2 separate regions of the Homo sapiens genome follow, and region 2 is linked to region 1. The links are contacts of gene promoters, found by promoter capture Hi-C in human tissues and cell types (Jung and others, 2019). All regions are on one chromosome and are shown on one strand. Each heading gives the region's core, a stretch centred on a gene start or on the middle of the fragment in contact. The rest is flanking DNA. Distances are from core to core; before and after follow the strand shown.

The links. Contacts are between HindIII fragments. The study calls those that stand out against the background at their distance.
Region 2: a fragment that was not itself captured here is called in contact with the fragment with the promoter of MEX3D in region 1 in 3 of the 25 tissues and cell types used here (IMR-90 fibroblasts, liver and lymphoblastoid cells).

The regions. Positions count from the first base shown.
Region 1 is chr19:1,564,881-1,570,846 of GRCh38, forward strand. It overlaps MEX3D (mex-3 RNA binding family member D), which reads right to left and starts at 3,445. Exons shown (of 2, transcript NM_203304.4): 1 at 2,584-3,445. The coding sequence starts at 3,178. It also overlaps the pseudogene RN7SL477P. RefSeq lists silencers at 3,445-3,634, 3,675-3,724. The HindIII fragment of the contact is 18,806 bases long and covers 1-5,966 here.
Region 2 is chr19:1,771,656-1,777,078 of GRCh38, forward strand. It overlaps ONECUT3 (one cut homeobox 3), which reads left to right. Exons shown (of 2, transcript NM_001080488.2): 2 at 3,498-5,423. The coding sequence ends at 3,790. LOC101928543 (a long non-coding RNA gene) reads right to left here and starts at 2,695. Exons shown (of 5, transcript XR_007067085.1): 1 at 2,603-2,695; 2 at 2,381-2,512; 3 at 1,979-2,072; 4 at 1,788-1,885. The HindIII fragment of the contact is 5,328 bases long and covers 1,467-5,423 here.

The DNA.
Region 1 (5,966 bases), core at 2,195-4,694:
ACATTGAAAGGTATGCTTGAGAACGGGGTGGGTGGGAGAAGCTGGGAGCCACAGATGGTTCTACAGTGTGGAAGAAGTACAGACTACCGAAGCTGTGGAAGACGTAAGGACTACTGAAGCTGCCAACCTGTCCTGGCATCCACAGTTGCATCCCTGGCAACGCGCACTCCACTTATGGGGTGGCCACTGTGTGTGACCTGGAGCTGGGATTAAAACCAGCAACTTGGGTCCAGGCATAGTGGCTCACACCTGTAGGAACCCCAGCACTTTGGGTGGCTGAGGATCGCTTGAGGCCAGGAGTTCAAGACCAGCCTGAGCAACAGAGCAAGACCCTGTCTCTACAAGAAAAACTTTATAATAAAAACAAATAAATAAAACTGGCCGTGCGCAGTGGCTCACGCCTGTAATCTCAGCACTTTGGGAGGTGGAGGTGGGCGGATCACTTGAGGTCGGGAGTTCGAGACCAGCCTGGACAACATGGTGAAACCCCGTCTCTACTAAAAATACAAAAATCAGCTGAGCGTGGTGGCTCACACTTGTAATCCCAGCTACTCAGGAGGCTGAGGCAGGAGAACTGCTTGAAACCAGAAGGCGGAGTTTGCAGTGAGCCCAGATCACGTCACTGCACTCCAGCCTGGGCGACAGAGCGAAACTCCGTCTCATAAATAAATAAATAAAACCAGCATCTTGCCCCAGAATCCTCTACCCTAATGGAGGTGAGACGTCCGCACATCACAGAGAGGGGCCGTCATCTGCGCAGGGCCACGGCGGCCTGCAGGACAAGCAATCAGGGCCCACTCTACCCCCGACCCCCACTGTACCCCAGGGCCTGCCTTGCTGACGGCCACCAGCAAGAGCCCAGTAAGTGGGTGCAGAACGCACAGGCCAGAGGTGGGGGCTGAGCCTGGTGCCCACAGACTCCATTTCCCATGGACCTGCCCCTAGAGAATTCCCACCCTGAGGCCACAGGTCTAGAAGCTCTCAGCCTGACGCTGATTCCTGCCAGCTCCCCATGTGGCCATAGCCTCGCTCAAAGGCCCTTGGGTGCCAGGACAAGCGCGTTCACAAAGAACACAGCCACAGCCTCCACCACCTGGAGGCTCAGGCTCGTGCCTTTGGTCACTTGGTCCCCAGGCCTCGGCTTGGACGCCTGTCTCCACAGGCTCCCAGACACTCCGCACAGGGCAGCTGTCCCGTTCTAGGCCCTGGGTATGGGACATGGAGGCCGGGTGGAAGGCCTCAATGGGGAGGCAGTAACAGGATGGTAGGGCGCCCTCCTGCCAGGGGGTCCCACCAAGGGCAGCCAGCAGGACTGAGACAGAACCCAGTCCCTCCCCACCCACCACTCCAGAGCATGCTTCCTGGGGCCAGCACCATGCCTGACCCTCCGTGGGTCCCCACATGAGCTGGACAAATGAACGACCAAAAGACAGGAGGCTGTGGTGCCCCACCCACCTGGACCGAGGGAAAGGGCGGAGGGGAGGGCGCCCTGGTGGTCCCCCGCCTGAGGCCAGGGCCATAGATGACCTTGCAATCCCAGCCCCCCACACCTTTCTCTGGCCTGGATTCCCGAGGGCCCCGGGGAGGCAGGGACCCCCAGCCCAAGTGTCCTGCGGCCCCACCACCAGCCCCGCCAAGGCCCCACCCCAAGTTCTAGAACCTGGCTGATCACTGGCGGTCAGCGGGGACCCAGGAGCGGGGAGGGGTGGCGGGAAGGCAGGAGAAAGTTGAGGGAGGCAGGCGGGCGGGTGGCTAACGGGGTGGTGGGTGTGAGCTGGGCCAGGCACTGCCCACCACCCGCCCGCCCGCCCCGCAGCTCGGGGGCCAATGAGCAGCGGCCGGCCTGATGTCACCCTGCAAATCTCAGCCTCGCTCTCTAACAAAGAGAACAATGGGGCGGCCAGAGGGAAGCTCCGACGATGCCACCGCTGGACCCCACACCCGGGGCCTGCCGCCCGCCGGCCTGCCCAGCAGGCTGCACCCCAGAAGTGGCTTTGACAGCCGGTCCTTCCCCAGGCCCCGAAATCCCTGACTCGGGGCCAGAGAGTGGAGCAGGGACCCTCTCCTGCCCGGTCCCGTCCCCACCCCAGTCAGGGCCCCAGGCTGGAGACTGAGACGTGCGCTCTTTGTACTGTCAGCCTTCTCTCCCGGTCCTGCAGGCGGCCCCCCTAAGCCACCCCTAAACCTGCGCTTGCCCCGCCCCGCCGCCTGTGCTGGGTGTGGGGCGCCCCCCGCCCGGCCGGAGCCCCGGGCCCTCGAGCCCCTCTCTGGGGTGCCCCTGCGGGCGGCCGAGGGCCTGGGCTGCGGCGCGGCTCCCCGGAGCCTTTCCGGGCTGGAGGCGGCCCAGACAAAGGCGGCGGCGGGGCCGGAGCGCGCAGGGGAGGAGCGCGGGCTGCGCCCAACTTTCTCCCGCGGCGGCTGCAGGACAAAGGCGCAAAGGCAGCGGCCGAGGCCGGAGCCCACGCGGGGCGTGTCCGGTGCGGGGCGTCCGGCGCGGGCTGGGCTGGGCTCGGGCGACCCCCTTCCCCGGGGCGGACGGTGCGGGGACCCCCAGGACAGCAACCCCCGACGAGGGCCACTCACCCTGGCGACCCACGATCTCGGCGACGTGCTCGGAGCTGGGCACCGGGACGCACTCGGTCATGTTGACGCTTTTCTTGCGGCTGCCGATCACGCTCATCTGGTCGGCCAGCAGCGTCGGGGGCCCCAGGGCCGCGGGGTGGGGCGCGAAGCCCGCGAACACGTCGGGGGGCGACGGCCGGGGCGGCGGCGGCGGCGGGGGACTCGCGTTGGGGTCCAGCAGCGGCAGCGACCCGGGGGCCACGGCGGGGGCCAGGGTCGGGGGCGCGCCGGCCTCAGGTCCGTCGGGGGGCACAGGCTCCGGAGCCGCCCCGCCGTCCGCGCCCCCCGCCGCCGCTGCGCCGTCCCCGGCCGCCCCCTCCTCGTCCGTGTCGCCAGCGCCCCCCAGCCCGAGCGCCGACAGCTGGTCCAGCGCCAGGCGGAGCGCGGCGGCCGCGTCGTCGGGTTCGGGCGGCGGCCGGGGCGCGGGCGCGGCCTCCTGGGCGCCCTCGGGCGGGGGCGCAGGTCCGGGTCCGGGGTCCTCCCCCGCCGCCCCCACGCCGCCGCCGCCGCCGCCCCCGCCCCCGCCGCCGTCGGGCTGGCCGAGCGAGCTGGGCATGGCGGGAGCTAGCGCTGGGGCCCGCGCTCCTGCCGCCCGCGCCGCCGCCGCCGCCCGCGCCGCCCTCCGCCTCTGCGAGCTGGGCCGCCGGCCGCCTGCATCCAGCGGCGGGGGCGGGCACGGGGGGCCGGGCGGGCGGGGCGGCGGCGGCGCGGGGCTGCTCGGGGCCGGGCCGGGCCGGGCCGGGCGGCGGCAGCGACTCTGGCTGCGGCTCGGCGGCGGCGGCGACGGCGGCGGCGGCTCCTCGGCGGCCGAGGCGGCGGCGGCGGCGCGGGACGCTCCTTCCCTCCCGCCGCCTCCCGCGGCCCCGCCCCGGCCCCGCCCCCGCGACGTCACGCCGCGGCCCAACAATGGGCGGCCCCCAGGGCGCAGGCGCGCGGGGCGGGGCCGGGGCGGGGCCGGCGCCGGGCACGTGGTCCAGGCCCCGCCTCCGCCCGGCGCTCGGGCGGGAACCCGGGCGCATCCGCACGTGCGGGCGCTGCTGCAGGTGTGTGCGGCTCAGCCCCTGCCTGGACAGCGCTCCCTCCCCAAGCCTGAGAGTCCCTGCCTCGCGCGCCCCAGGGCCCGAGGTCCCGCTCCCCAATTTCCCCTAGAGATCCGGGTCGCCCCCAAGCGAGGTCTCTTGCTCCACGCCCGCTTCCTTGTGCCAGGGACCCCCACCTCCCTGCATAAAGGCGTGGGGTCCTCTCCAAGTCCCCCTCGCGATCCCACTGGACTTCGAAGTCAGGCTCCTGCCCGCCCACCGCCTCTGTGCCAGGGTCCAACCCCCGCCCCACGGTGCACCCCCCAGGGCCTGGGGTCCCAGTCCCCAAGTACCCCTTGCTATCAGGTGGGCTTTAGGGTCAGGCCCCTGCCCCACCCCCAGCCTCTGTGCCAGGGACAGCTCCACAATCATGCACACCCCAGGGCCTGAGGTCCCTCTCCCCTAGTCTCTCCTAGCTCCCCTCTGGCTGGCTCCCGGCTTTGGGATCAGGCCACCTCCTCCACGCCACCTCCTCCGCCCCACCCAAGGCCACAGACCCGGTCTCTGTGCCCCCAGCCAGAGACCTCTCTACCACAGTGGTGCTTCCATGGCGAGGGCAGGCTCACACCAGCCAGAACCCTCCATGTGGAGCCCCACCCTCTTCTGGGGTGCCTTTCCCCGCAACGGGCGTTGTCCACCTCTAAAGCCACCCTTGCCGGGCGCGGTGGCTCATGCCTGTCATCCCAGCAGTTTGGGAGGCCGAGGCGGGTGGATCACGAGGTCAGGAGTTAGAGACCAGCCTGGCCAACATGGTGAAACCCCCGACTCTACTAAAAATACAAAAATTAGCCAGGCGTGGTGGCGCGCACCTGTAATCCCAGCTACTCAGGAAGCTGAGGCAGGATAATTGCTTGAACCCTGGAGGTGGTGGTTGCAGTGAGTCGAGATTGCACCACTGCACTCCAGCCTGGTTGACAGAGCAAGACTCCTCTCAAAAAAAAAAAAAAAAAAAAAAAATAGCCGCTTTCCCAGCGGCTCTTCCTCCAGCTGTCCTTCGGGGCCTTCCTTGCACCTGTGGGGTTTTTTGTGATAAACCTGTCTGGCTGGGTCTACCTGCCCCCCTCTTCTACCAGACCTGTCCCTGGCTGGCTGTGCAAACTTGGACCGAAGGCAGGGCTCTCTGGGCAGGAGTGGGGCAGCCTGCCCCTTTGCCTAGCAAGGCTTCTCCTCTGTCCCCTCCCCCCGCCTCACACACCCTGGGTCCCCCTCAGCCACTCTTCTAGTCCCTCAGCCACAGCCACCCACTGCTGGGCCCTTCACTTTTGGTGGCTTCTCTGCCCACTTCTTCCAGGCAGGCAGGGTCAGGATCCCCCTGCCTGGAGCCCTTCCCCACCCAAAATCTCTCTCCTGACCCCAGGCTGCATCCAGCCCCACTTCCCCTCCTGGGGTCCTGGACTTCTCTTTCGTGCACGCCCATGCTTGGAATTGTTTTTCTATCTCTCTTTCTTTCTCTCTTTCTTTTTTTCTCTTTCTTTCCTTTTTTTCTTTCTTTCTTCCTTTCTTTCTTTTCTTTTTCTTTCTTTCTCTTTCCTTTCTTTCTCTTTTTTCTTTTCCTTTTCTTTCTTTCCTTTTTTTCTTTCTCTTCCTTTTCTTTTTTCTGTCTTTCTTTCCTTCTTTCTTTTCTTTCTTCTCCTTCCTTCCTTGCTTCCTTCCTTTTCTTTCATCCTTTATTTCGTTCTTCATTTCTTCTTTTCTCTCCCTTCCTTCCTTCCTTCCTTCTTTCTTTCTTTTTTTTTTTTTAGACGGAGTCTCGCTCTGTCACCCAGGTTGGAGTGCAGTGGTGCAGTCTTGGCTCACTGCAAGCTCCGCCTCTGGGTTCACGCCATTCTCCTGTCTCAGCCTCCCGAGTGGCTGGGACTACAGGTGCCTGACGCCACACCCAGCTAATTTTTTGTATTTTTTGTAGAGACAGGGTTTCACCGTATCAACCAGGATTCTCCCTTCCTTCTCTGCTCCCCTCCCCTCTCCTCTCCTTTCCTTTTCTTTCTTTTTCGGACAGAGTCTTGCTCTGTTGCCCAGGCTGGGGTGCAGTGGCTATTCACAGGTGTGACCCCAGGACAGATCAGCATGAGAGCTTTGACCAGCTCCGTCTCTGACTTGGGTAGGTTCAGCCCTCCTTAGGCAACCTGGTGGTCCTCCCAGTCCAGGGAGGTCATCATATTAATGTAGACGCTGGATCAGCATAGCTCACTACAGCTCAGAACTCCCGAGCTCAAGCAATCCTCCCGCCTCAGCCTCCTGAGTAGCTGGGACCACAGGTGTGCA
Region 2 (5,423 bases), core at 2,881-5,380, 210 kb after region 1:
TTCAATGAGCTGAGGACTTGATGTCCCACCCCCATTTTTTTAGAGCTGGGGTCTCGCTCTGTCATCCAGGCTGGAGTGCAGTATCATGATCATAACTCACTGCAGCCTTGACCTTCTGGGCTCAAATGATCCTCCTACCTCAGCATCCTGAATAACTGGGACCACAGGTGTGAGTCACCATGCCTGGCTAATTTTAAATTTTTTGTAGCAATGGGGTCTCACTATATTCTCCAAGCTGCTCTCAACCTCTTGGGCTCAAGTGATCCTCCCACCTCAGCCTCCCAAAGTGCTGGGATTAGAGGCATGAGCCACTTCATCCAGCCTATTTAGTTATTATTTATTTATTTATTTATTTATTTATTTATTTATTTATTTTTGAGACGGAGTCTCGCTCTGTTGCCCAGGCTGGAGTGAGTGGTGTGATCTCAGCTCACACCTCTGCTTACTGGGTTCAAGCGACTCTCCTGCCTCAGCCTCCCCAGTAGCTGGGATTCCAAGCACCTGCCACCACACTCAGCTAATTTTTTTTGTATTTTTTGTGGAGACAGAGTTTCATCATGTTGACCAGGCTGGTCTCGAACTCCTGACCTCAAGCGATCCACCTACCTTGGCCTCCCAAAGTGCTGGGATTACAAGAATGAGCCACCATGCCCAGTGGGCCTATTTATATTTAAAAATTATTTATTTTAAAAGAGAGTCTTACTCTGTCACCCAGGCTGGAGTGCAGTGGTGAGATCATGCTCACTGTAGCCTTGAACCCCCAGCCTCAAGTGTTCCTCCTGCCTCAGCCTCCCAAAATGCTGAGATTACAGGCATGAGCCACTGCACCTGACCACATTTAAACTGGAAACTCATCTTTCAACGCTAGATTTTTTTTCATTATTTGATCATCTCTTCCTCTATTTTTGAACTGTCTCTTGATCAGGTGACAACCCTGCTTCATCTTAATTCATCCTCTAACTTTTTATTCTCTTTCATTTCCCATCTTTGCAGCTGCTTGTGTTCCATTTTCTGGGATATCTGCTTTACTCTTTTTTTTTTTTTTTTTTTTTTTTGAGATGGAGTTTCACTCTTGTTGCCCAGGCTGAAATGCAATGGCACGATCTTGGCTCACCACAACTTCTGCCTCCCAGATTCAAGCAATTCTCCTGCCTCAGCCTCCCGAGTAGCTGGGATTACAGGCATGCACCACCACGTCCAGCTAATTTTTTTTTTTTTTTTTTTTTTTTAGTAGAGACAGGGTTTCACCGTGTTAGCCAGGATGGTCTTGATCTCCTGACCTCGTGATCCGCCCGCCTCGGCCTCCCAAAGTGCTGGGATTACAGGCGTGAGCCACCGCGCCCGGCCAATATCTGCTTAACTTTATCTTCCAGTCCTTACATGGAATTATTTTACTCTGGCTGTTATATATTCACATTTTAAGAGCATTTCCTCACTCTCTAATGGTCCCTTTTACTTAACAGCATCCTGTACTTGTTTCATGGATACGATATTTTTCTCTTACTCCTCTGGGAATATTAATTATAGCTTTGCCTGCCTTGTCGGTTCCTTCTGAGTTTATTCCTCCCCCACCAAACCATTTTTCTCCATTGTTCTCCCCCCTCCTGCCTCCCTCCCTCTCTCTCTCTCCCTCTCTTTTTCATGTTAGACGCTTTTCTAAAATGTGCAGTAACCCACAGGCATCACTTGCATTTAATCATAAAACCTGAAACCGCAGTTAGAAGCCCCACACATTCCAGGTCAGAGGGAGTGAAGTGTGCGTCAGCTCACACCCTAGACGGGTGAACCTGTTGTCCCCGAGACATGAGTCATGGCAGAAGGAACATTCATTTATTTCTGTGGACGTGTATGGACATTGATCTAGCATGTCATGTTCCAGGCTGTTCTGCAACGAAAAGAAAAGCTCTCTGTGCCATTCCAGTAGGCCACGACGGCTGGCACAGAGAAGAGACTGGGAGCAGAGACCCACTAGTACTACCTGCACCACCGGCCACTTCTGGGGGTCACAGAGTAGCTGGAACTCCGGGATGGAGACAAGGGCAGGACAGCCTCTTCAGCACCACAGTCCCAGTCTGGATGCAGGAGAGAAATTGAGATTCTGATGGAGTTTCAAGCTGATGCCACAAATGAGCCCATCTGACTTGTGGCCCAGCTCCTAGTGGGGGAAGCCTGTGTTTTGTACCCACTGACACCCACTGCATTGAGGGGAGGGGTTCACTTCGCTGCTGGAGCAGGAAGAGCAGGACTCGGCTTCAGCCCTGCCCCATCACCCCGAGCCTTTGCTTTTCTCCCCTTTGCAAGTGTCTGGTCTGCAGGCCATGGGGCAGCCTCCTTCAGCCCTCTCCGTGATCTGTGCGGGCTGACCAAGAGGAAGGGTGACCTGCTCATCTGGGAGAGGAAGAGGTGGTCCCTGCACTCTCCCCTCCTCCTCCAAAGTCTTCTTTCTTAGATGTTCTGCGCTCCAGAGGGTCCACTGGGTGCTCGAGGGAGGCCAAGTCTGGGTGGTCTCAGCCTGTGGATAGGGGCAGGAGCAGGAGGCAGGGATTCAGATGTCGGAATTGGGCTGTGGACTCACAGGGTCCCTAAGGGTATCAGGCCTTACAGGAGTGTCGCTGCTGCTCATTCGTAGAGCTTGGTTGTCACAGCCAGTTGCCATGGCACACACCTGTAATCCCAGTGCTTTGGGAGGCTGAGGCCAGAGGATCACTTGAGGCCAGGCGTTCGAGACCAGCCTGGGCAACATAGCAAGACTTCCCCTCCGCAAAAAAAAAAAAGAAAAGAAAGAAAGGAAAGGCCCTGGTTAGCCCACCATTTCTGGGGAAGGCTGCTGGGTTTTGTGATGCACCCCAGGACCTAGTAATTAACCAGTTATTTCACCCAAGTCTACACTGAGCCAAAAACTCTCATGTGCAGTTTCCATGTCATTTCCCCAACACCCCCAGGTTGGGGCTGCAGAAAGGAGAGGAGAAAGTTACCAATATCAATTTCTGTGGTCCTTTAGGTAGGGAGCGTTTGAGGGTAGGACGGGGTTTGGGGGGTATGAGGCTTGGGGGGTGCCTGAGTGGGCTCCATGGAGAAGGGGGCTGGAGGGGGTGGTAGCCATGCCTGCAGAGGGGCACTCACACTGTGTCCCCTTCTTTGTCCTCCCCCCACCCCCACCGCATCTGCTTTCCCTGCCTGTCCTCGCCTTCCATTCTGTCTCCACCGCCCTCTGGCTGCATCCTGGACTTTCCTGTTGTCTCCCTGTTGACCTTGCTGTTTCCCTGTCTCTGTCTCTGTGCGTCCCTGTGTTCCCCGCTGTCTCCCCCTCCGCCTCTCCCTGCATTCTTGTTGCTTCTGGGCTCTCCCTGGGACCTTATGTGCATTCGCCTTTCCCCAACGTGTCCCTTCTCCCCTCCTCCTCATCCTCCGGGCGGCGTGCGCCTCCTGCCTCTCCCCGGCCGGCCACACGGTGGCGCTGTGTCCCGCTCGCCCGCCCGCCCGCCGCTCGCCCGCAGCCTGCAAGCGCAAGGAACAGGAGCAGCAGAAGGAGCGCGCCCTGCAGCCCAAGAAGCAGCGCCTGGTGTTCACCGACCTGCAGCGACGCACGCTGATCGCCATCTTCAAGGAGAACAAGCGGCCGTCCAAGGAGATGCAGGTCACCATCTCGCAGCAGCTCGGCTTGGAGCTCAACACCGTCAGCAACTTCTTCATGAACGCGCGGCGCCGCTGCATGAACCGCTGGGCTGAGGAGCCCAGCACGGCCCCCGGGGGCCCCGCCGGCGCCACGGCCACTTTCTCCAAGGCCTGAGGCGCCCCGGCCCCGCGCCCTCCCTGCCTCCACGGCCTGGGCGCTGTGCCCCCACGTCACCTCCCCACATCCTGCCGGCCCGGAGACCCGCCCCCAGGGGGCACCTGGAGGGGGTGCTATCCGGGCCCCCCACACCCGGGGAGGGGGAAGCAGCACACCCCCCAGCCCAAGTGCACAAAAAGGGCCCCCCTTCCTCCCTCCATGCCCACTCCCTCCAGGCCAAAGGAAGCCCTCCACCCCCCCCCGGAGGGGAGGGAGTGACAGAAAGGGGTTTCCCAGCCCCCTCTCCATTCAGGACGCCCAGAGGGCCTCGAGAAAAACCAGGGCTCACTGTGTTGTCCCCTAAAGCGGGTCAAGAAGCACATACTAGAAATATAAACCGGGTATTTAAAAATGGAATTTTAAAGAATAACCCCTCCTCCGTCAGATCCCCTGCCCCACCGAGGGAGGTAGTAGAAAACTTCCTTCCTCCCCACCCGCCCCGGCCCCCTCCCCAGGGACCTCAGCCCTTTCCAAAGTCGCCAAAAACCCACATCAAGCCGGATCCTTACGGTCCCCCACCCTCTCCAAAACCAACCCCACCCGCTGGCAGGACGGCCCCTGCGGCCGAGAACTGAGCTGCCCCTCTCTGCGGCCAGGATTCCTCGTGCCAAGAATCGCCTGCCTTAAAGTCTGGGGAGGGGCCTGCGGCGGGCGCCCAGCACCTACGGGCGAGCACCCTTCCCACCCCATCCCAGGCCGCAGGGGACGGGGGGCTCCCACGTGCGGGTAAATTCCAGACGCCCCCGCCCCGCCCCGTCTGTTGAGTTCACTTTACCTTTAGGCACCTTCGTGGAGCGCAAGGAAGGACGCAGCTCCGGACACGGGAGACCACGCCCAGGCTCCCAGGAGAAGGGGACCCGGCCGGAGAAGGCGCCGCTGGGGCCGCCCGGAGGAGCCCCTCTGCACGGGCCCGTGGAGACGCTTCCTGCGTGGAACCTTCTGGAATCCACCGCCCCCCTTTCCGCCCGCGTCAGGGTCTGAACTGGGCTTGCAGGGGGGCAGCGGGGTTGAACGTGGTGTTGGTTTCCACTCTCGCCAAAGAGAGAAGACGCCGAGGAAGGTGGATTCCGCTTGCTCCATTTTTTGCCAAAAATATTTACAAATGGGAAGGGTCGGAAATGAAGATGAGCGCCCCCCTCCCACCCCGCGCTCTCCCCCGCTCCTCTCATCTGGTCTGGGTGACCTCCGAGACTGGCCGGCCGCGGGATCCCAGGAGCCCGCCTCCTCCGGGGGTTCAAGATCCGAGTCTAGAAGGAACCTCCTCCCTGAAATCCCCCCACTCATCGGCTGCCTCCCAGGGAGGAGGCGGCCCCCCTACCCCCCTTGAAAATGCAAAAGACATTTCTAGTGAAATGCCCCTCCCCTCCCCCAGGTAAAGGCTACCTCACTCAAGCTCATGTCTGTGATTGGAAAATCACGCCTGATACCAAAGATTTCTCCCAAGGATTTGTGCTGGATGACAGGATTCCCTGGCCTGGGACCCGGCTCGGGGCCCCGCCTGCCGAGTGCCACCCCTTCCCGAACCTGAGAGCGAAAGAGAGAGAGAGAGAGAGGGAGAGAGAGGGAGAGAAAGGGAGAGAGGGAGGGAGAG